Regions from separate parts of the Homo sapiens genome. Here all the other regions are linked to region 2. The links are contacts of gene promoters, found by promoter capture Hi-C in blood cells and fetal thymus (Javierre and others, 2016). All regions are on one chromosome and are shown on one strand. The core of a region is centred on a gene start or on the middle of the fragment in contact, and the rest is flanking DNA. Distances in the headings are between cores, read along the strand shown.

Region 1 (3,057 bases), core at 123-2,622, 220 kb before region 2:
GAACGATACAAGGGTCTTAGAACATTTTACCTGGGCCAGGGACAGTGGCTCATGCCTGTCATCTCAGCACTTTGGGAGGCTGAGGTGGGCAGATTGCTTGAGCCCAGGAGTTTGAGACCAGCCTGGACAACACGGCGAAACCCCATTCCCTACAAAAAAAAATACAAAAATTAGCCAGGCATGGTGGTACACACTGTAGTCCCAGCTACTTGGGAGGCTGAGGTGGGAGGATCACTTGAGCCTAGGAGGTTGAGGCTGTGGTGAGCTGAGCACCACTGCACTCCAGCCTGAGTGACAGAGTGAGACCCTGTCTCAAAAGCAAAAAAGAACATTTTACTTGTTTCACTGCTCCCTAATTTATAGGCTATTTTGTTCAGTGTGTTCAGTTCTAACTAGTTTAACACCACAAATTATGATTTTTTTATTGTTTTATACAGTCAATATTTGTTCAGATACAACGAATTGATACCTTTTCTGTTCACCATACCTTCTTGCATGTCAGACTTTCTATTCAGATTTTTTTTTTTTTTTTTTGCCTGAAGTAGGATTTTCTTTGGTAAGGGTCTGTTGGTAGTTAATTGTCTGAAGATGTTTCTATTTTATTTTTATTCTTTTATTGAGGCAGGGTCTCACTCTGTCGCCTAGACTGGAGTGCAGTCATGTGATCATGGCCTACTGCAGCCTTGGCCTCCTGGGCTCAGGTGATCCTCCCACCTCAGCCTCCCAAGTAGCTGGGATTATAGGCATATGCCATCACACCCAGCTAATTTTATTTTTGGTAGAGACAGGGTTTCACCATGTTGCCCAGGCTGGTCTCAAACTCCTGGGCTCAAGCGATCCACCCGCCCTTGGCCTCCCAAAGTGTTGGGATTACAGAGGTGAGCCACCATGTCCAGCCTACTTTTATTCTTGAAAGATAGTTTCTGGCTTTGTTCAGGCTTAAAAAATAGATAGATAGATAGATAGATAGATAGATAGATAGATAGATAGATAGATAGATAGATTCACTAAGTAAAACATTCAGATATAAGTTTCTAGGATGACAATTATTTTCTCTCAACATTGTTGGTATTGAGAAGTTAGCTTTCATTTTAATCATTCCACAGTTTCTTGTGTTTATTATTATTTTTTTGTTTGTTTGTTTTTTGAGACGGAGTCTCGCTCTGTTGCCCAGGCTGGAGTGCAGTGGCGCAATCTTGGCTCACTGCAAGGTCCGCCTCTGGGTTCACGCCATTCTCCTGCCTCAGCCTCCCAAGTAGCTGAGACCACAGGCGCTCACCACCATGCCCGGCTAATTTTTTGTATTTTTAGTAAATACAAAAATTTTTTGTATTCACCGTGTTAGCCAGGATGGTCTCGATCTCCTGACCTCATGATCCACCCGCCTCGGCCTCCCAAAGTGCTGGGATTACAGGCGTGAGCCACCGTGCCCGGCTATTTATTTTTTTATATTTTTTTTTATTTTTTATTTTTTTGAGACAGAGTCTTGCTCTGTCACCCAGGCTTGAGTGCAGTGGTGCAATCTCGGCTCACTGTAACTTCCACCTCTTGAGTTCATGCAGTTCTTCTGCCTCAGCCTCTAGAGTAGCTGGGATTACAGGCACGTACCACCATGCCCAGCTAATTTTTTTGTATTTTTAGTAGAGATGGGGTTTCACCATGTTGCCCAGGCTGGTCTCAAACTCCTGGGCTCAAGTGATCCACCCACCTCGGCCTCCCAAAGGGCTGGGATTAAAGGCGTGAGACCACGCCTGGCAATTTCTTGTGTTTAGATGTGTATTTCTTTTATTTGGTTGGAATTTCTTAGACATCCTGAATTTAAGATTTCATGTTGAAATATCAATTCTGGAAAATTCTTATATATTATCTCTTCAATATTACCTCTTTCCTACTGTCCTGCTTTTATTTATTTACTCTTTAAAATAAATTTTTTTTTGGCCAATTGCAGTGGCTCATGCCTGTAATCTCAGTAATTTGGGAGGCTGAGGTGGGCGGATCACCTGAGGTCAGGAGTTCGAGACCAGCCTGACCAACATGGAGAAACCCCGTCTCTACTAAATATACAAAATTAGCCGAGTGTGGTAGCACATGTCTGTAATCCTAGCTATTAGGGAGGCTGAGGCAGGAGAATCGCTTGAACCTGGGAGGTGGAGGTTGCGATGAGCTGAGATCGCGCCATTACACTCCAGCCTGGGCAACAAGAACGAAACTCCGTCTCAAAAAAAAAAAAAAATTTTTTTTTTTAAATTTATTTTATTTTATTTTTTAGAGACAGGGTCTTGCTCTGTTACCCAGGCTGGAGTATAATGATACAATCATAGCTCACTGCAGCCTCAAACTCCTGAGCTCAAGTGAGTCCTCCTGCCGCAGCCTCCGACGAACTGCAACTACAGGCACATGCCACCATGCCCAGCTAATTTTTTAATTTTAATTTTAATTTTTTTTTTTTTTAGAGATGGGTCTTGCTATGTTATCCAGGCTGGTCTCGAACTCCTGGGCTCAAGCTGTCCTCTTGCCTCAGCCTCCCACATAAGCTGGGACTACAGGTGCACGCCACCATACCTGGCTCTTTTCCTACTTTCTTCTCTCTTTCTGTACTCTGGTTAGTTGTATGTCAGACCTTTTTACTCTATCCTTCATGTATCTTCACTGCCTCTTGCATTTTACATGTTTACTTTTCTCTTTGTATGCTGTGTTCTGGATTATTTTTTTCAGATCTCTCATCTAGTTACTGATTTTCCTTTTCAGCTGTGTCGAATCTGATGTTTATTCTATTCACCAAGTTTTAAATTTCACTTTTTAAATTTTTTATTTCTAGATATTTTATTTGGTTATTTTTTCATATCTTCTTGGTCATTTTTTTCAGTCTGTTTTCCCTAATTTGTATTTTCAGTCCATTCTTTTAAACATATGAAACATACTTGTGTCCTGTCTAGTAATTCCAATAACTTTTAATTAACGTTTTGGGGTCTAGTTCTGTAATTTGTTGTTTCTGTTGGCTCTTACTCATGGGCTTGTTTCCCTGTGTTTTTGTGATTCTTGTCTATGAGCATGTCT
Region 2 (2,788 bases), core at 39-2,538:
TCTGCTGGTGTTTCCATTCCTGCCAGGTAATGTGATCTATAAGGGGCTGGGACAGGACAGGGCCTAGGCAAACACCCCTGGTCACACATTGGTGAAAACTTGCATTAGTCTTTTAACCCGTTTAATACTTGTCCAAGTTCACACAGTTACTAAGTGGCCGTTCTGCTCATTCCAGAGCCCATGCTTTTAACTAATACTATAGAGCCTGCGCTGAAGTGATCTGACCAAGGTCAATTGCTAGTGAGTAGTAAAGCCAATGCCAGTGGCCTCGAATTTAAGCCTCCCGACTCCTCGCTCAGTGCTTTTTCCAGCACACCTTCACGGCTCTCACTTCTCCAGGGATTCAGCCATTTCTTTGCGTGATCACGCCCATCATTTACTTCCTATAAGCAGCCTTGGGAAAAGCTTCATCCTTACCAGAGGAGTTGTAGCTTGCACATCCATATAGAGAGGTCGCAGCACTGGCCCCACCTCCGGGGCAGCGGCTGTATCTGCGGGAACCGCAGACTGAGGAGCACGGTCTCCAACTGATAAAAAATGGAACGGAGTAGCCAAGTAAGACCGAAGGCAACTATGAACGCATGGCATCCAAAGGGCAGAAGGAAAAATCTGGCTGGAGGTGAGATAAGTGTAAGGGATGCTAGGGTCGAATCTCAATGGAAAGAAAACAACACCAGATACCTGACACGCTGTAAAAGGAGGTAAGGGAGAGGGAGAGAGGGTTCCTGGAGGGGGTGTTGAGTTGATATTCAAATGGTATCGTAGGAAGGAAGGCTCTAAAGGGCAAAGACGTTTAGAAGGAACGTGGAGCCAGAGTAGGTGCAGTCCCTTCTGACCGAAGGTAACGGTCTGCACGGGAGCCCGGAGCAGCATCTGTAACTTGGCCAGGAGCGGTCTGAAGGACGCGCCTCCACGGCTCTGGGGGCCTGTCGCGCAGGGTGCGAGGGGTGGTGCGCCGGGGTCAACCGTTCGGGGACCCGCCTAAGAAAGTTTGAGGGATGTGTCATTTGAGAGAAGGGTCAGAGGGTCTGGGCAGCAGGGTGGACAGGAAGGCTCCGGAATATTCAGTTGCGTCGCCGCGCGGAGGGGACAGGTCCGCGCCTCCCGGAGAGCGGGACCCGAGCGTACCGCGCAGGCGCAGCCCCCGAGTGGGCGCCGCGGGCTTCGGCCCTGGAGCCGCTGTCACCGCCACTGCCGCCCGCCTCCAAGCGGCTCGGAGCAGCATGGTCCCGCTGGCAGAGCCCACCTTCCGAAGCCGCTGCAGTCCTGGGCCCCAGGCTCCCGGAAGTGCTGCCCGGCGCTCCGGAAGCGATTCATCGGGCCGCGAGCGCCCTCCCCGTCGTTTTCCGTGAGAGACGTAGAGCTGAGCGACCCAGCCCGCGAGCGAGGTGAGGTAGGCGCCGGGCGACGCGGGGCCGGAACGCGAAGAGGGTGGTGGAGTCGGGCTACCCACTGATTTTCCTTCCCTTACTTCCCCTGAGCCCTTGGGCCCACTTCCCAGCCTACCGCTTCCGTCCCCGCCCGACTCTTGGGCCAGCGCCTGGGCCCACACTTTCCTATCCCCCGCAGATGCCGGTGGCCGTGGGTCCCTACGGACAGTCCCAGCCAAGCTGCTTCGACCGTGTCAAAATGGGCTTCGTGATGGGTTGCGCCGTGGGCATGGCGGCCGGGGCGCTCTTCGGCACCTTTTCCTGTCTCAGGTGAGGGGCGCGGGCGGTGATCTCTGGGCAGGACAACCAGACCTTCCGGCCCTGCCCCATTCGGCCTGGAGCCTGAACACAGCCTCCTTCTTTCGACTTCCCTCTCTGTCCCCTCGCGAGCCAGACTCATTCCAAACCACCTTCAATCTGTAAAGTCAGGTTGGAAGCGTCAGTGCTTAAGAATTTGAGCTTTAGAGTCAAAATGCTTTCTGGCCCTTTTCTTACTGGTTCGGTGACTTTAGGCAAGTTGGAGACTGGGTTTCCTTAAGTGTAGAATGAAGACAGTAGCATCTAACTTATAGAGTTGTAAAAATTCGATCAGCACACTTTGCACAGCATCTGGCACATATTAAGTGCTCAGTAACTAGTTACTACTGTTGCTTTTATTTTTTTTTCCAATTGCGCATAAGGAAAGAAACTCGTTCAGCGGTTTTACTATTCTGGATACAGGATACAGAGATAAAGCAGTTAAACTTTACACTCTAAAGGTCATTTTCACATTTAGAGGCTGTTATTGCCATATCCCTAGATTGTAAATTATCATTTACAGAGCACTTACTCTATGTTAAGCACTGTGCTAAATACTGTAGTTTTCAAAATCCTGTAAATAATGTTGAGATGCCCATTTTACACTTGACACTATGTGTAAATTGTAGAGCTGACTCTTGAACCCCCACCTTACTCCAAAATCATTAACACCAAGAAACTAAAAGACAGATGTCTTTATTGGGTCTTAAACTGCAGGCAACACCAGTCAAAAAAGCTGGTTTCTCTATGTATTTTACACTGCATCTGCTGCCTCCCACAAACTGAAGGCAGTTAATACGACATCCACCAGAAAAATACCCTGGAGACCCAGATGGATCTTTTTCCTTCTCATTACCCACCCCAGGTAGTAAGATATAATATCCAGTAAGTGGAAAATCAGATGTAGGGGTTGCTAGACTAGTGTTAGCAAAAAATTGGAAAGGAGCAGTTAATACTCTTTCTGATATTTTTGTTACCAAATAGCTCCATCTTGGTTTCCTCCTCAGGATCGGAATGCGGGGTCGAGAGCTGATGGGCGGCATTGGGAAAACCATGATGCA
Region 3 (2,995 bases), core at 250-2,749, 230 kb after region 2:
GCCTGTAATCTCAGCTACTTGGGAGGCTGAGGCGGGAGCATCGCTTGAACCCGGGAGGCGGAGGTTGTGGTGAGCTGAGATCGTGCCATTGCACTCCAGCCTGGGCAATAAGAGCGAAACTCCGTCTCAAAAAAAAAAAGAGTTCATTGAATTTTGACATTGTATGCAGCCGTGAAGCCACCACCAGAATCAATACATGGTGTGTGTATTTTGGTTTGTTTTTTGTTTTGGCATACAGTTCTGAGTGTTTTTTTTTTTTTTTGAGATGGAGTCTCACTCTGTCACCCAGGCTGGAGTGCAGTGGTGAGATCATGGCTCACTGCAGCCTCCACCTCCTGGGTTCAAGCGATTCTCCCACTTCAGCCTCCCAAGTAGTTGGGACTACAGGCGCATGCCACCATGCCTGGCTAATTTTTTGTGTTTTCTGTAGATATAGGGTTTTACCATGTTGGCCAGGCTGGTCTTGAACTCCTGACCTCAAGTGATCCACCCACCTCGGGCTCCCAAAGTGCTGGGATTACAGGCACGAGCCACTGTACCTGGCTGAGTTATTTGTTTTTAATTGCTGTAAGATATACATAATATAAAATTTACCATCTTAACCATTTTTTTTTTTTTTTTTTTTGAGACAGAGTCTCGCTCTGTCGCCCAGGCTGGAGTGCAGTGGTGTGATCTCGGCTCACTGCAACTTCTGCCTCCCAGATTCAAGTGATTCTCCTGCCTCAGCCTCCTGAGTAGCTGGGAATACAGGCGCACGCCACCACACCCGGCTAATTTTTGTATTTTTAGTAGAGACAGGGTTTCACCATGTTGGCCAGGCTGGCCTTAAACTCCTGACCTCAGGTGATCCACCCACCTCGGCCTCCGAAATTTCTGGGATTACAGGTGTGAGCCACTGCACCCGGCCCCATCTTAACCATTTTTAAGTGTACAGCTCTGCACAGTTGTCATTCATGTTGTTTTACAACCAGTCTCTAAAACCCTTGTGAAACTGAAGTTCTATACCCTTTACCAACAGCTCTCCATTTCCCTTTCCCCAAAGCCCCTGACAACCAGTATTCTACTTTCTGCCTCTCTGAATTTGACTTCTCTAGAGACCTCATGTAAGTGGAGTCATATAGTGTTTGTCTTTTTGTGACTGGCTTATTTCACTTAGCATAGTGTCCTCAAAGTTCATCCGTGTTATAGCATATGTAAGAATTTCCTCCCTTTTTAAGGCTGAGTAATAACTTGTTTTATGTGTATGCCACATTTTGTTTATCCCTTTCATGCTAAATATTCCTTTTTTTTTTTTTTAACAAGAGATGGAGTCTTGCTTTATTTCCCAGGCTGAAGTGCAGTGGCTACTCACAGGTGCGATCATCAAGCACTGCAGCCTCAAGCTCCTGGGCTCAAGCAACTCAGCTCATTCTTTTTTTTTTTTTTCTGAGACAGAGCCTCGCTCTGTCACCCAGGCTGGAGTGCAGTGGCGTGATCTTGGCTCACTGCTACCTCCACCTCCTGGGTTCAAGCGATTCTCCTGCCTTAAACTCCTGAGTTGCTAGGATTACAGGCACATGCCACCACACCTGGATAATTTTTTTTTTTTTTTGAGACCGAGTCTCGCTCTGTCACCCAGGCTGGAGTCCAGTGGCATGATCTTGGCTTACTGCAAGCTCTGCCTCCTGGGTTCACGCCATTCTCCTGCCTCAGCCTCCCGAGTAGCTGGGACTACAGGCGCCTGCCACCACGCCCGGCTAATTTTTTTGTATTTTTAGTAGATACAGTGTTTCACCGTGTTAGCCAGGATGGTCTCGATCTACTGACCTTGCGATCCACCTGCCTCAGCCTCCCAAAGTGCTGAGATTACAGGCATGAGCCACTGCGCCTGGCCTAATTTTTGTATTTTTAGTAGAGATGGGGTTTCACCATGTTGGCCAGGCTGGTCTCGAGCTCCTGGCCTCAACTGATCTGCCCATCTCGGCCTCCCAAAGTGCTGTGATAACAGGCGTGGGCCACTGTGCCCGGTCGGTCTCTTGGCTGTTATAACCTACCCTACTTTACCAAATACAGCAACAGGGCCTTGAGTGGGGTAGGCCTCTTCCATGGTTTCCATGGGTGGAGCCTGGACTAGAATCCAAATCCTGGCTCTGTCAGGTACTTTTCGAACTGTCTCTCTATGTGATACTGCATGACCTTGTGAGCTTTCTTTTGGTTTTAGTATAGTCTGTGTCAGGGACTGCTTTTATTTAAGTTGTAAACAGTGGCAGACTAGTGCGATGAGTGAGTTAAGACTTGATAGGCTGCTCCTGGATAGGATTTCCTTTGTGCTGATCAGGCCTAGAGGAGGCCTGGTGTCAGGCAGAGTGGAGTATCAGGACCCTGAGATGGTGAGATGGGAATCTGCTTCCTCTTGTGCTCTCTGGCACACAGAGGCCTGGCTTCAAGATCTGCGTGACAAAGGTGGTGGAGGAGGGAACATTGGGTCTGCGTTGGTTTGGGTAAAAGCTGAGGTGCTATAACAAGGACCCCCCACATAGAGGCTCAAACAAAACAGAAGTTTCTTTCTCATATAAATGAATGGTTCAAGGCTAGGCAGGGATCTAGGCTAGGTAGGAGACCTTTCTCCAGGATTCCATCCGTTGGGTTGGGAACTTTGTTTCCTTCTGTCTTACGGCTCCAGCATTCTCTTAGGGTTCCCCTTATCTGCATGGTCTTAGGTTCCTTTTGTCTTATTGCTCTGGCATTCTCTTGGGATACCCCCCATTTGCATGGTTGAAGCAGTTTCACCTGCATTTCAGCTCTACCCCAGTCCCCAGGAGGGGGAAAAGAGAGAAAGAAGAGGGAGGGCAAATAGTTTCATGGACAGGCCTAATGGCAGGGCAGGCTGGGCAGGTGGCCACAGGCCCTGCTTATACTTAGAAGTAGGGGTGGGGGTGGGGATAAAAGGAGGAGAGGTTGGATGCTGGGGCAATTAGCAGTTGCTGTGGCAGAATCTGTTGAGGTGAACTGAACC
Region 4 (2,993 bases), core at 376-2,875, 140 kb after region 2:
ACAAAAATTAGCACTGTATGGTGGTGTGTGCCTGTAGTCTCAACTACTTGGGAGGCTGAGGCTGGAGGGACACGAGCTGGGGAGAGGGAGGTTGCAGTGAGCCGAGATCACGCCACTGTACTTCGGCCTGGGTGACAGAGTGAGACCCTGTCTCAATCAATCAATCAATCAATCAAAATAAAACGAAACAATAGCTTAGCATATACAGTGTTCTGAATCATATAACTGTATATCTTAGAAGAGCTTTCCATATCTTGACAGATAAAATCATCTTGTTCTTTTTAATAACCGCGTAGTATAAGGCTGGGCACGGTGGCTCATGCCTGTAATGCTAGCACTTTGGGAGGCTGAGGTGGGCGGATCATGAGGTCAAGAGATCGAGACCATCCTGGCCAACATGGTGAAATCCCGTTTCTACTAAAAATACAAAAATTAGCTGGGTGTGGTGGCACGTACCTGTAGTCCCAGATACTCAGGAAGCTGAGGCAGGAGAATCACTTGAATCAGGGAGGTGGAGGTTGCAGAGAGCTGAGATCGCGCCACTGCCCTCCAGCATAGCGACAGAGCGAGACCCTGTCTCAAAAAAACAAACAAACAACAACCAAAAAAACTGCACAGTATTCCATTATATTGCTTATAAATGCTTAAAATTGAGACTGTCTGATACAGTCTGGGTTGCATGGTCATTCTGATTTATTGGCACATGTAAAATCTAATCTAGTTGTTAAATCCTTAATGTTTTCTTCCTGCCTCTTGTGTGCTCAAGTCTTCTGTGTATGTCATCTTGTTTAATCCACACTACAACCCAGTGTGCTTCTTCCACTTTACATGAGGGAACTCAGGCTCTGAAAGTTTAATTTAATGGTTCATAAACTGGCCGGGCACAGTGGTTCACCCTTGTAATCTCAGCACTCTGGGAGGTTGAGGCGGGCAGATCACCTAAGGTCGGGAGTTCGAGACCAGCCTGGCCAACATGGCGAAACCCCATCTCTACTAAAAATACAAAAATTAGCTGGGCATGGTGGCGGGCGCTGTAATCCCCGCTACTCGGGAGGCTGAGGCAGGGAGAATTGCTTGAACCCAGGAGGTTGCGGTGAGCCAAGATCACACCACTGCACTCCAGCCTGGGTGACAGAGCGAGACTCTGTCTCAAAAATAAAATAAAATAAAATAGTTCATAAACTAAGGAATATGCAGGTTAGGATTTGGACCTCAAGTCTGTTACCCTCCATAATTTGTGATTTGACCCAACTACACAGAGTCTCTAAACGGTAGGCCTGGTAACCTTCTCCTTTGGGAAGAGGTTTGGAAATGTACCATTATGGATATTTGGATATTTGGGGTGGGTATTAAAGGAATGCCAATTTTTTTTTTTCTGACTCAGGTATCCAGCTCACATAGAAGACATTGACTACGAGGAAGGAAAAGTACTCATCCATTTCAAGCGTTGGAACCATCGTTATGATGAGTGGTTCTGCTGGGACAGTCCTTATTTACGCCCTTTAGAGAAAATACAGCTGAGGAAAGAGGGCTTGCATGAAGAGGATGGATCTTCTGTGAGTAACAAATCTGGGAAGTTCTGTAGTATGCAAGGTCAGCCATTGGGCTGTTTGTGTTTCAATCTTTGATGTTAGTAGCAGCTGGAGACCAGTTCTTATTTAGGCCTATAGTTGTAACCCTGAGATCTCTATGACACCTGGGGCTCTTGAAGAATCCCAATTTTGTTTGTTTGTTTTTTGAGACGGAGTCTCGCTGTGTTGCCCAGGCTGGAGTGCAGTGGTGCAGTCTCTGCTCACTGCAGTCTCCACCTCTCGGGTTCAAGCGATTCTCGTGCCTCAGCCTCCCTAGTAGCTGGGATTACAGGTGCCCACCCTGGCTAATTTTTGTATTTTTAGTAGAGATGGGGTTTTGCCATCTTGGCCAGGCTGGTCTCAAACTCCTGACCAATTTTACGGCATTGTATCCCTAACTTCTAGAACACTGCCTGGCACATTGTAGATCTTCTGATCTTTTGTTAAGCTGTCTGGTCTTTTGTTAAGTGATCATTCTGGCCAGGCGTGGTGGCTCACACCTGTAATCCCAGCACTTTGGGAGGCGGAGACAGGCAAATCACAAGATCGGGAGTTTGAGACCAGCCTGGCCAACATGGTGAAACCCCACCTCTACTAAAAATACAAAAAATTAGCTGGATATAGTGGCGGGCGCCTGTAATACCAGCTACTCGGGAGGCTGAGGCAGGAGAATCGCTTGAACCCAGGAGGCGGAGGTTGCAGTGAGCCAAGATGATCATGCCACTCCACTCCAGCCCGGGTGACAGAGTGATATTCCATCTCAAAAAAAAAAAAAAAAAAAAAAGTGATCATTCCATGTAGAACGTTGTACTAAGTCTCATATGCAAGGTCTTCTTCTTTTGAGACAGGGTCTTGCTCTGTTGCCCAGACGGGAATGCAGTGGTGCAATCATGGCTCACTGCAGCCTCAATCTCCCAGGCTCAAGCGATCTTTCCACTTCAACTTCCCAAGTAGCTGGGACCACGGGCCCACCACACCCGGCTAATTTTTAAATTTTTTTATAGAGACAGTGTCTCGTATTGTTGCCCAGGCTGGTCTTGAACTCCGGGCTCAAGTGATCCTCCCGCCTTGGTCTCCCACAGTGCTAGGATTATAGGTGTAAGCTCGTCCTGCAGAGTCTTTTATAAGCCCTTAAAGAACTTGGAATTGATTGGACTGTATTCCATTTTTCTAAATTTTATCTCTATGCCTGGAGCTTTTACTGACTTCAAAATGCAGTATGAAGTATTAGTTTTAAGGTTTTTTTGTTTTGTTTTGTTTTAAGCAGTGAAAGCACAGATTTATTGAAATGAAAGTACACTCCACAGAGTGGGAGCGGGCTCAAGCAAGTAGCTCAAGAGCCGTTTTTTTGGTTTGTTTTTGAGACGGGGTCTTGCTCTGTTGCTCAGGCTGGAGTGCAGTGGCTCGATCTCACCTCACTGC
Region 5 (2,908 bases), core at 39-2,538, 200 kb before region 2:
CACCTTGGCCTGTGGTCCTGTGTCCCACTTCCTTCAGCAAGTCTGTCAGTTCCTCTGGCTGTCTCCATGTCCCTGGGGGCCATTATTCAGGTTCCAATGAATCCTCCTTCAATTGCTTTTTCTGAATTGAGGTTGATATTTTTGCCCCTTGTCCTGAAGGACCAGCGTCTCCCCTGGGCATAGCAGAGTCCTGGAAGGTGGTAGGGATGCCCTTTTACAGTATCAGCTTAAGTGGAATATACCACCACTTTTTTTTGCCCAAGTCCTTATCACTGCTAGTGCCACAAAATAAGAAAGAGAAGGGTCGGTGTTGGGGTGACAGTAGCAGGGAAGTGTAGTCTAAAGTGGCTTTTCATCTTGTCTTCTAGGGTGAGCGAGAGTTACTTCAGGCAGCCAAGGAGAACCTGACAGCCCAGGTGGAACACCTGCAAGCAGCTGTCGTAGAAGCCAGGGCTCAGGCAAGTGCTGCTGGCATCCTGGAAGAAGACCTGAGAACGGCTCGCTCAGCACTGAAGCTGAAAAATGAGGAAGTAGAGAGTGAGCGTGAGAGAGCCCAGGCTCTGCAAGAGCAGGGCGAACTGAAGGTGGCCCAAGGGAAGGCTCTGCAAGAGAATTTGGCCCTCCTGACCCAGACCCTAGCTGAAAGAGAAGAGGAGGTGGAGACTCTGCGGGGACAAATCCAGGAACTGGAGAAGCAACGGGAAATGCAGAAGGCTGCTTTGGAATTGCTGTCTCTGGACCTGAAGAAGAGGAACCAAGAGGTAGATCTGCAGCAAGAACAGATTCAGGAGCTAGAGAAGTGTAGGTCTGTTTTAGAGCATCTGCCCATGGCCGTCCAGGAGCGAGAGCAGAAGCTGACTGTGCAGAGGGAGCAGATCAGAGAGCTCGAGAAGGATCGGGAGACTCAGAGGAACGTCTTGGAGCATCAGCTTCTAGAACTTGAGAAGAAAGACCAAATGATTGAGTCCCAGAGAGGACAGGTTCAGGACCTGAAAAAGCAGTTGGTTACTCTGGAATGCCTGGCCCTGGAACTGGAGGAAAACCATCACAAGATGGAGTGCCAGCAAAAACTGATCAAGGAGCTGGAGGGCCAGAGGGAAACCCAGAGAGTGGCTTTGACCCACCTTACGCTGGACCTAGAAGAAAGGAGCCAGGAGCTGCAGGCACAAAGCAGCCAGATCCATGACCTGGAGAGCCACAGCACCGTTCTGGCAAGAGAGCTGCAGGAGAGGGACCAGGAGGTGAAGTCTCAGCGAGAACAGATCGAGGAGCTGCAGAGGCAGAAAGAGCATCTGACTCAGGATCTCGAGAGGAGAGACCAGGAGCTGATGCTGCAGAAGGAGAGGATTCAGGTTCTCGAGGATCAGAGGACCCGGCAGACCAAGATCCTGGAGGAGGACCTGGAACAGATCAAGCTGTCCTTGAGAGAGCGAGGCCGGGAGCTGACCACTCAGAGGCAGCTGATGCAGGAACGGGCAGAGGAAGGGAAGGGCCCAAGTAAAGCACAGCGCGGGAGCCTAGAGCACATGAAGCTGATCCTGCGTGATAAGGAGAAGGAGGTGGAATGTCAGCAGGAGCATATCCATGAACTCCAGGAGCTCAAAGACCAGCTGGAGCAGCAGCTCCAGGGCCTGCACAGGAAGGTAGGTGAGACCAGCCTCCTCCTGTCCCAGCGAGAGCAGGAAATAGTGGTCCTGCAGCAGCAACTGCAGGAAGCCAGGGAACAAGGGGAGCTGAAGGAGCAGTCACTTCAGAGTCAACTGGATGAGGCCCAGAGAGCCCTAGCCCAGAGGGACCAGGAACTGGAGGCTCTGCAGCAAGAACAGCAGCAGGCCCAGGGACAGGAGGAGAGGGTGAAGGAAAAGGCAGACGCCCTCCAGGGAGCTCTGGAGCAAGCCCATATGACACTGAAGGAGCGTCATGGAGAGCTTCAGGACCACAAGGAACAGGCACGAAGGCTGGAGGAAGAGCTGGCAGTGGAGGGACGGCGGGTCCAGGCCCTGGAGGAGGTGCTGGGAGACCTAAGGGCTGAGTCTCGGGAACAGGAGAAAGCTCTGTTGGCCCTCCAGCAGCAGTGTGCTGAGCAGGCACAGGAGCATGAGGTGGAGACCAGGGCCCTGCAGGACAGCTGGCTGCAGGCCCAGGCAGTGCTCAAGGAACGGGACCAGGAGCTGGAAGCTCTGCGGGCAGAAAGTCAGTCCTCCCGGCATCAGGAGGAGGCTGCCCGGGCCCGGGCTGAGGCTCTGCAGGAGGCCCTTGGCAAGGCTCATGCTGCCCTGCAGGGGAAAGAGCAGCATCTCCTCGAGCAGGCAGAATTGAGCCGCAGTCTGGAGGCCAGCACTGCAACCCTGCAAGCCTCCCTGGATGCCTGCCAGGCACACAGTCGGCAGCTGGAGGAGGCTCTGAGGATACAAGAAGGTGAGATCCAGGACCAGGATCTCCGATACCAGGAGGATGTGCAGCAGCTGCAGCAGGCACTTGCCCAGAGGGATGAAGAGCTGAGACATCAGCAGGAACGGGAGCAGCTGCTGGAGAAGTCTCTGGCCCAGAGGGTCCAAGAGAATATGATCCAAGAGAAGCAGAATCTGGGGCAAGAGAGAGAAGAGGAGGAGATAAGGGGCCTTCATCAGAGTGTAAGGGAGCTACAGCTGACTCTAGCCCAAAAGGAACAGGAGATTCTGGAGCTGAGGGAGACCCAGCAAAGGAACAACCTGGAAGCCTTACCCCACAGCCACAAAACCTCCCCAATGGAGGAACAATCTCTAAAACTTGATTCTTTAGAGCCCAGGCTGCAGCGGGAGCTGGAGCGGCTACAGGCAGCCCTGAGACAGACAGAAGCCAGGGAGATTGAGTGGAGGGAGAAGGCCCAGGACTTGGCACTCTCCCTAGCGCAGACCAAGGCCAGTGT
Region 6 (2,700 bases), core at 64-2,563, 240 kb before region 2:
GTGTAATGAGAAGGCATTGGAAGGTTTCAAGATTTTTGTAAAAACAAAATGACGTAATGCATGTAAAGCACTTAAAGCAACAGCCCTCCAGAAGCACTCAGCAAGTGTTAACAATGATGATGATGATTCACACAGTTCACAGGCTCCCAGGCTGGGTTCTCTTCCTTTGTTTTCTCATATTATCTTATTATTTCACATGCTACATTGTATGTATTGTAATAGTTTGTGTCTATTTCCCCTGCTAGACTAAGAACACCTTCAGCGATTCATTCAACAAATGTTTCTGAACCACTGTGCCAGGAACTAAGGATGCAGTGATAAACCAGGAGCTCTTGGTTTAGTGCAGAGTTCCAAAAGTCATGCCAGGAGACACTAGTCCTGTGAGCTTGTCTCATGGTCAGTTAAATTTGGGGAATGATGCTCATCATAGCGCCCTTCAGAGATGAGGGTCCCTTTTAGTATTTTAAAGGTTCTGAGGAGTCTTGTGTGTAGTAAAAGAACAGTCCTTTCCATTTGACTATGTGCTTTGGTCCCCAGTTCAAGAGGAGGTTGAAGTGGCATGGCAATGGTTAGAGACCCTGCTGGGCGTGAACACCCTCTGGCTACCTAGGGACCTGTGGGCCTACCACCTGGTGCCCTCATGGAGACAAGAAGCCCTGGGTTGAACAACATGAAGCCCCAGTCACTGCAGCTGGTACTGGAAGAGCAGGTGCTGGCACTACAGCAGCAGATGGCAGAGAATCAGGCAGCCTCCTGGCGGAAGCTGAAGAACTCCCAGGAGGCCCAGCAGAGACAAGCAACCCTTGTGAGGAAGCTGCAGGCCAAGGTGAGGCAGCTGCCCTTTTGGGGAGGGGAAAGAGAACAACCCCCAGAGCTAGGTGCTGAGGTGAGATAAGGGTTGCAGGAGGCAGAGTCTTGTGGTGGGAGTGGCCTACATCTAGCATGGTGAGATAAGACCCAGACCTTCTAGCTTTCATGTACAGCTTCTCTTTTGATGCTCACAACTGCTCCATGAGGTACGTATTATATCCTTTTAATTTAATTTTATTTTTGAGATAGGGTTTTGCTCTGTTGCCCAGGCTAGAGTGCAGTGGTATGATCACAGATCGCTGCAGCCTCAACCTCCTGGGCTCAGGCAGTCCTCCTGCCTCAGCCTCTGGAGTATCTGGGACCACAGGTGTACACCACCACTTTTGGCTAATATATCTCTTTAAAGATGAAATTCACAAGGGTTAAGTTAATTATCCAGGTTTCTTCAGCTAGTCTAGAGCCAAAGCCCATGATCTTGCCTCTGTGATATAAAAGGCATATAGAAAGTATTTATTTATTTATTTATTTATTTTTGAGACAGAGTCTCGCTCATATAGAAAGTATTATTTAAATGCCCAAATAAGGCCAGGCACGGTGGCCCATGCCTGTAATCCCAGAATTTTGGGAGGCCGAGGCAGGTGTATCACCTGAGGTCAGGAGTTTGAGACCAGCCTGGCCAACATGGCAAAACCCTGTCTCTACTAAAAATACAAAAATTAGCTGAGTGTGGTGGCGCATGCCTGTAATCCCAGCTACTCGGGAGGCTGAGTTAGAAGAATCACTTCAATCTGGGAAGCGGAGGTTGCAGTGAGCCAAGATTGTGCCACTGCACTCCAGCCTGGGACACAGAGCGAGACTCCATCTCAAAAAAGAAAAAAATGCCCAAATAGAAACTATAAGATGTTATGGCCTTACCTTACTGTCACCACCCATTTCCCCTGTTCATAGCAAGTTTGCCTAAGATCCTCAGGGGCCTTTGCTTTGGGCTGTTTGTGCCAGCTGTGTTCATTGCCCAGGGCCTGTTCTTTTTGCTGCAGGTGCTGCAGTACCGAAGCTGGTGCCAAGAGCTGGAGAAGCGGCTAGAAGCCACTGGAGTGAGTGAGGCTGAGCTCTCTGCACCCCCTGGGTCCTCAGTGAATATACTTGTTAGGTTTCATTTGTTGACTGAGGGAGGTTGGAGTGTACAAGTGAGGTGTTTGGTGGAAGGCTCTCTTTCTCAGCCTCTGAGAGGTTTATCACACTGATATCTTCATTGGACCTAGCTGGCCTGTCAGATTCCAACCCTTGGTTTTCAAAGGACGAAATGTAAATTAGATTGGAAGGAGTGTGGGATTAGCAGGAAGAAGTGCATGTTTCCTCCAGCAGGTGTCAGTGTTTCTTTTAGAAAGATGCAGGCCTTTGCGAGCCTACAGCATGTCTGCAGCAAAGGGATGTCTGTGCTATTAGAACTGGCTTTGAAAAACCCATTTATTTGCCTTTGTTCCAGCTGCCTCTCAGTACCTCCTCACATTTTCCTCAGAAAAGTTCTCTCAGAGGAAGGAAAGAACCAAAACTTATTGAGCACCCTCAATGCAGTCCAGGCAGCATGAGGCACTGTCATATACAGATGGTCCTCCCCAACTTAGGATGGTTGCAAGTTTTCAACTTTATGATGATGTGAAAGCTATATGCATTCAGTATGTTCCTTGGGTTATGATGGGGTTACAGCTGGATAAACCCATTGTTTGGGGTTGTTTTGCTTGCTTGTTTGGTTGGTTTTTGTTTGTTTGGTTGGTTGGTTGTTTTGAGACAGGGTCCTACTTACTCTGTCGCCCAGGCTGGAGTGGACTGGTGCAGTCATGAGTCACTGCAGCCTCAGCCTCCTGGGCTTAAGCGATCATCCCACCTCAG
Region 7 (2,723 bases), core at 196-2,695, 170 kb after region 2:
CTGTTCTGAAAAGGGGAAAGTGTCAGAGAAAAGTCTTCCCAAGAACGAGAAGGAAGACAAGGAAAACATTTCCGAAAATGACAGAGAGTATTCTGGAGATGCCCAAGTGGATAAGAAACCTGAAAATGACATTGTGAAGAGTCCACAAGAAAACTTGAGGGAACCCAAAAGAAAACGAGGCAGACCCCCTTCCATAGCTCCTACTGGTGAGTTTTTTAAGTGGGCTCTGCAATGGGCAATGCCAGAGTATTCTTCTGTGGCCCTTTGTGGTTCTTTGTAACTTGTGTACGTCAATCGTTTATTTTTGTGACTGATTTTGAATTGTCTTATGATCTGGAAACAAGTTGTGTTCATGAAGCTGAATTTAAGTGAGGTACATATCCAAGTGAATCTAAGTTGGGAAGCATGTTCATAACTGAGTTTGCTAAAGTAGTGGTTAACTGTTGACTAGATACTTCAGCTTATATGATAAAACCTGATAAACCGAGGCCTTTTGCTTATGCTTTTTCAAATGATCTCAGTTTAAGTCAGCTTAATAGAATCTAGAATCAGGAAATAGAGTTTTAATGAGACAGACATGAAAGAAAAGTAATAGTAAAAAGGTATGGGCTTCTGAAGGAGATGGGGACAAAGGAACATTGAAACTAGAAAAGCATGGGTGCATTTTGAAATTGAGCTCCTTGGAGAGTGATTATTGATTAGAAATTTTCACAGTCTAAATAAAAAGCCGAGATGGCTAATTGGTAAGAGTCAAGGTTAGAGGGTATAGATTTAGGGAAGAATGCAGTTATTAAAAAACTTAAAATTTGGAATTCTTCTAGAATAACCAAGAATGAAACAAGCCCTGATTTCTTCCTAAGCCAAACACTCGTTCTCCAAATCAATTCAATGGCATGAAGAGGCCCCCCCGGTTCTCTGGACTGAGCCTGCCATTGATTAATATGTGCAGTGACCTTCAGACATTCTTGATTGTGCATTCTTTATGTGTTCAGTTGAAAAACTGTGAATCCCCTAGCACGTTTTAAAGCAGTATTTATCTTTTTCTCACAAGTTTAAATAGCTGCAGTGGATACATTTAAAATACAAAACATGAAGGCTGAGTGCGTTGGTGCATGTTTGTTGTCCCAGCTACTCAGGAGGCTGAGGTGGGAGGATTGCTTGAGCCCAAGAATTCCAAACCAGCCTGGACAATGTAGTGACACCCCATCTCAAAACACACACACACACACACACACACACACACACACACACACACACAAATATTTTCATCAAAACTGTGGAACTACAGAGCAAACCTTTTCATTATTCCCTAACGATGTAGAGAATGCAAAGCCAGTCTTCCTTATCAAATCAGACTATCAGACTTAATTTCTGTGGAAAAAAATTTAACTTACTTCACATAAGTGTATTAGTACTCATTGTAAGATAGGAAATTATATAATAGGTTGATTTGTCTCTATATGAAATAAGGGATCTTTCCCTGTAGTGCTTGTAACTGGGTTTTGCCCTCAAGAGCTGAGGGTGCTGCAATTGTCTGTAGGCCTAAATAGGGCCTAGACCTCTGCTGTCTAGTATGGTAGCCACTAGCTGCATGGGGCTATTGACTACTTGAAATGTAGCTAGTCTGAATTGAGATATGCTGTAAGTGTAAGTAAATGCTAGATTTCAAATACTTAGTTCAAAAAAAGAATGTAACACACCTCGATTTTAAAATACTGATTACGGCTGGGCCTGTAATCTCAGTGGTTTGGGAGGTCCAGGCGGGTGGATTACTTGAGGTTAGGAGTTTGAGACCAGCCTGGCCAACATGGTGAAACCCCGTCTCTACTGAAAAAATATAAAGACAAATTAGCCAGGCTTGGTGGTGGGTGCCTGTAATCCCAGCTACTCAGGAGGCTGAGGCAAGAGAATTGCTTGAAACCCAGGAGGCGGAGGTTGCAGTGAGCTGAGATCGGGCCACTGCATTCCAGCTTGGGCGACAAAACAAAAAAAAATTGATTCCATGTTGAAATGTTTTTAGAGGCTGGGTGCAGTGCCTCATCCCTGTAATCATGCCAGCACTTTGGGAGGCTGATGAGGGAGGATCACTTGAGTCCAGAAGTTCGAGACCAGCCTTGGCAACATAGTGAGACCTCATCTCTACAAAAAATGAAAAAATTGGCTGAGAGTGGTGGCACGTGCTTGTAGTCCCAGCGATTCCAGAGTCTGAGGCAGGAAGGTTGCTGAGCCCAGTTTAAAAAAAAAATTTTTTTTAAAGTACTGGATTAAATAAAATAGTATTTAAATTAACTTTTTAAGTTGTGTTTTTTTTTTTTTTTTTTTTTTTTTGACAGGGTCTCACTCTGTTACCTAGGCTGGAGTGCAGTGGCGTGATTGTGGCTCACTCCATTCTCCACCTCCTAGGCTCAAGCGATGCTCCTATCTCAGCCTCCTGAGTAGCTGGGACTACAGGCACATGCCACCATGCCCAGCTAATTTATTTCTTGTAGAGACAGGGTTTCACTATGTTGCCCAGGTTTGTCTCAATCTCTGGGCCTCAAGCAAGCAATCCTGCCTTGGCCTCTGAAAGTGCTGAGATTACAGGCATGAGCCACCATGCCTGGCACTTAAAAACCAAACCCTCTTATGTGATGAGTAAAAAATTCAAAATTGGCCAGGCGTGGTGGCTCAGGAATTTGAGACCAGGCTGGCCAACATGGTGAAATCCCGTCTCCACTAAAAAT

The links. Contacts are between HindIII fragments. The CHiCAGO score rates a contact against its expected background, and 5 or more counts as called.
Region 1: a fragment that was not itself captured here is called in contact with the fragment with the promoter of NFS1 in region 2 in 5 of 17 cell types (megakaryocytes, total B cells, naive CD8 T cells and 2 more); the score reaches 7.8 in megakaryocytes.
Region 3: a contact is called between a fragment that was not itself captured here and the fragment with the promoter of NFS1 in region 2, in 1 of 17 cell types (endothelial precursors). The highest score is 7.1, in endothelial precursors.
Region 4: a contact is called between a fragment that was not itself captured here and the fragment with the promoter of NFS1 in region 2, in 5 of 17 cell types (total CD8 T cells, naive CD8 T cells, total B cells and 2 more). The highest score is 6.3, in total CD8 T cells.
Region 5: a fragment that was not itself captured here is called in contact with the fragment with the promoter of NFS1 in region 2 in 2 of 17 cell types (erythroblasts and naive B cells); the score reaches 7.4 in erythroblasts.
Region 6: a fragment that was not itself captured here is called in contact with the fragment with the promoter of NFS1 in region 2 in 8 of 17 cell types (naive B cells, megakaryocytes, total B cells and 5 more); the score reaches 12.7 in naive B cells.
Region 7: a contact is called between a fragment that was not itself captured here and the fragment with the promoter of NFS1 in region 2, in 1 of 17 cell types (megakaryocytes). The highest score is 5.7, in megakaryocytes.

What each region holds. Positions count from the first base shown.
Region 1 is chr20:35,481,103-35,484,159 of GRCh38, forward strand. The region is part of intron 20 of CEP250 (centrosomal protein 250); the gene reads left to right. It overlaps CEP250-AS1 (CEP250 antisense RNA 1), which reads right to left. Exons shown (of 3, transcript NR_184017.1): 2 at 31-149. Among named protein-coding and RNA genes, the nearest start is that of CEP250-AS1, 8.4 kb to the right of the region's middle. The HindIII fragment of the contact is 7,692 bases long and covers 1-3,057 here.
Region 2 is chr20:35,698,064-35,700,851 of GRCh38, forward strand. It overlaps NFS1 (NFS1 cysteine desulfurase), which reads right to left and starts at 1,289. Exons shown (of 13, transcript NM_021100.5): 1 at 1,129-1,289; 2 at 418-527. The coding sequence starts at 1,225. ROMO1 (reactive oxygen species modulator 1) reads left to right here and starts at 1,342. Exons shown (of 3, transcript NM_080748.3): 1 at 1,342-1,393; 2 at 1,570-1,700; 3 at 2,735-2,788. The coding sequence starts at 1,570. RefSeq lists enhancers at 856-1,515, 1,516-2,175, 1,747-1,966 and a silencer at 1,067-1,256. The HindIII fragment of the contact is 3,611 bases long and covers 404-2,788 here.
Region 3 is chr20:35,931,824-35,934,818 of GRCh38, forward strand. The region is part of intron 15 of PHF20 (PHD finger protein 20); the gene reads left to right. Among named protein-coding and RNA genes, the nearest start is that of SCAND1, 21 kb to the right of the region's middle. The HindIII fragment of the contact is 6,632 bases long and covers 1-2,995 here.
Region 4 is chr20:35,841,189-35,844,181 of GRCh38, forward strand. PHF20 (PHD finger protein 20) reads left to right here. Exons shown (of 18, transcript NM_016436.5): 3 at 1,385-1,556. Among named protein-coding and RNA genes, the nearest start is that of PHF20, 71 kb to the left of the region's middle. The HindIII fragment of the contact is 4,081 bases long and covers 1-2,993 here.
Region 5 is chr20:35,502,022-35,504,929 of GRCh38, forward strand. CEP250 (centrosomal protein 250) reads left to right here. Exons shown (of 35, transcript NM_007186.6): 30 at 369-2,908. Among named protein-coding and RNA genes, the nearest start is that of CEP250-AS1, 12 kb to the left of the region's middle. The HindIII fragment of the contact is 9,262 bases long and covers 1-2,908 here.
Region 6 is chr20:35,461,728-35,464,427 of GRCh38, forward strand. CEP250 (centrosomal protein 250) reads left to right here. Exons shown (of 35, transcript NM_007186.6): 4 at 538-826; 5 at 1,848-1,904. The coding sequence starts at 641. Among named protein-coding and RNA genes, the nearest start is that of CEP250, 7.5 kb to the left of the region's middle. RefSeq lists a silencer at 2,091-2,270. The HindIII fragment of the contact is 6,904 bases long and covers 1-2,700 here.
Region 7 is chr20:35,863,195-35,865,917 of GRCh38, forward strand. PHF20 (PHD finger protein 20) reads left to right here. Exons shown (of 18, transcript NM_016436.5): 6 at 1-206. Among named protein-coding and RNA genes, the nearest start is that of SCAND1, 90 kb to the right of the region's middle. The HindIII fragment of the contact is 4,740 bases long and covers 1-2,723 here.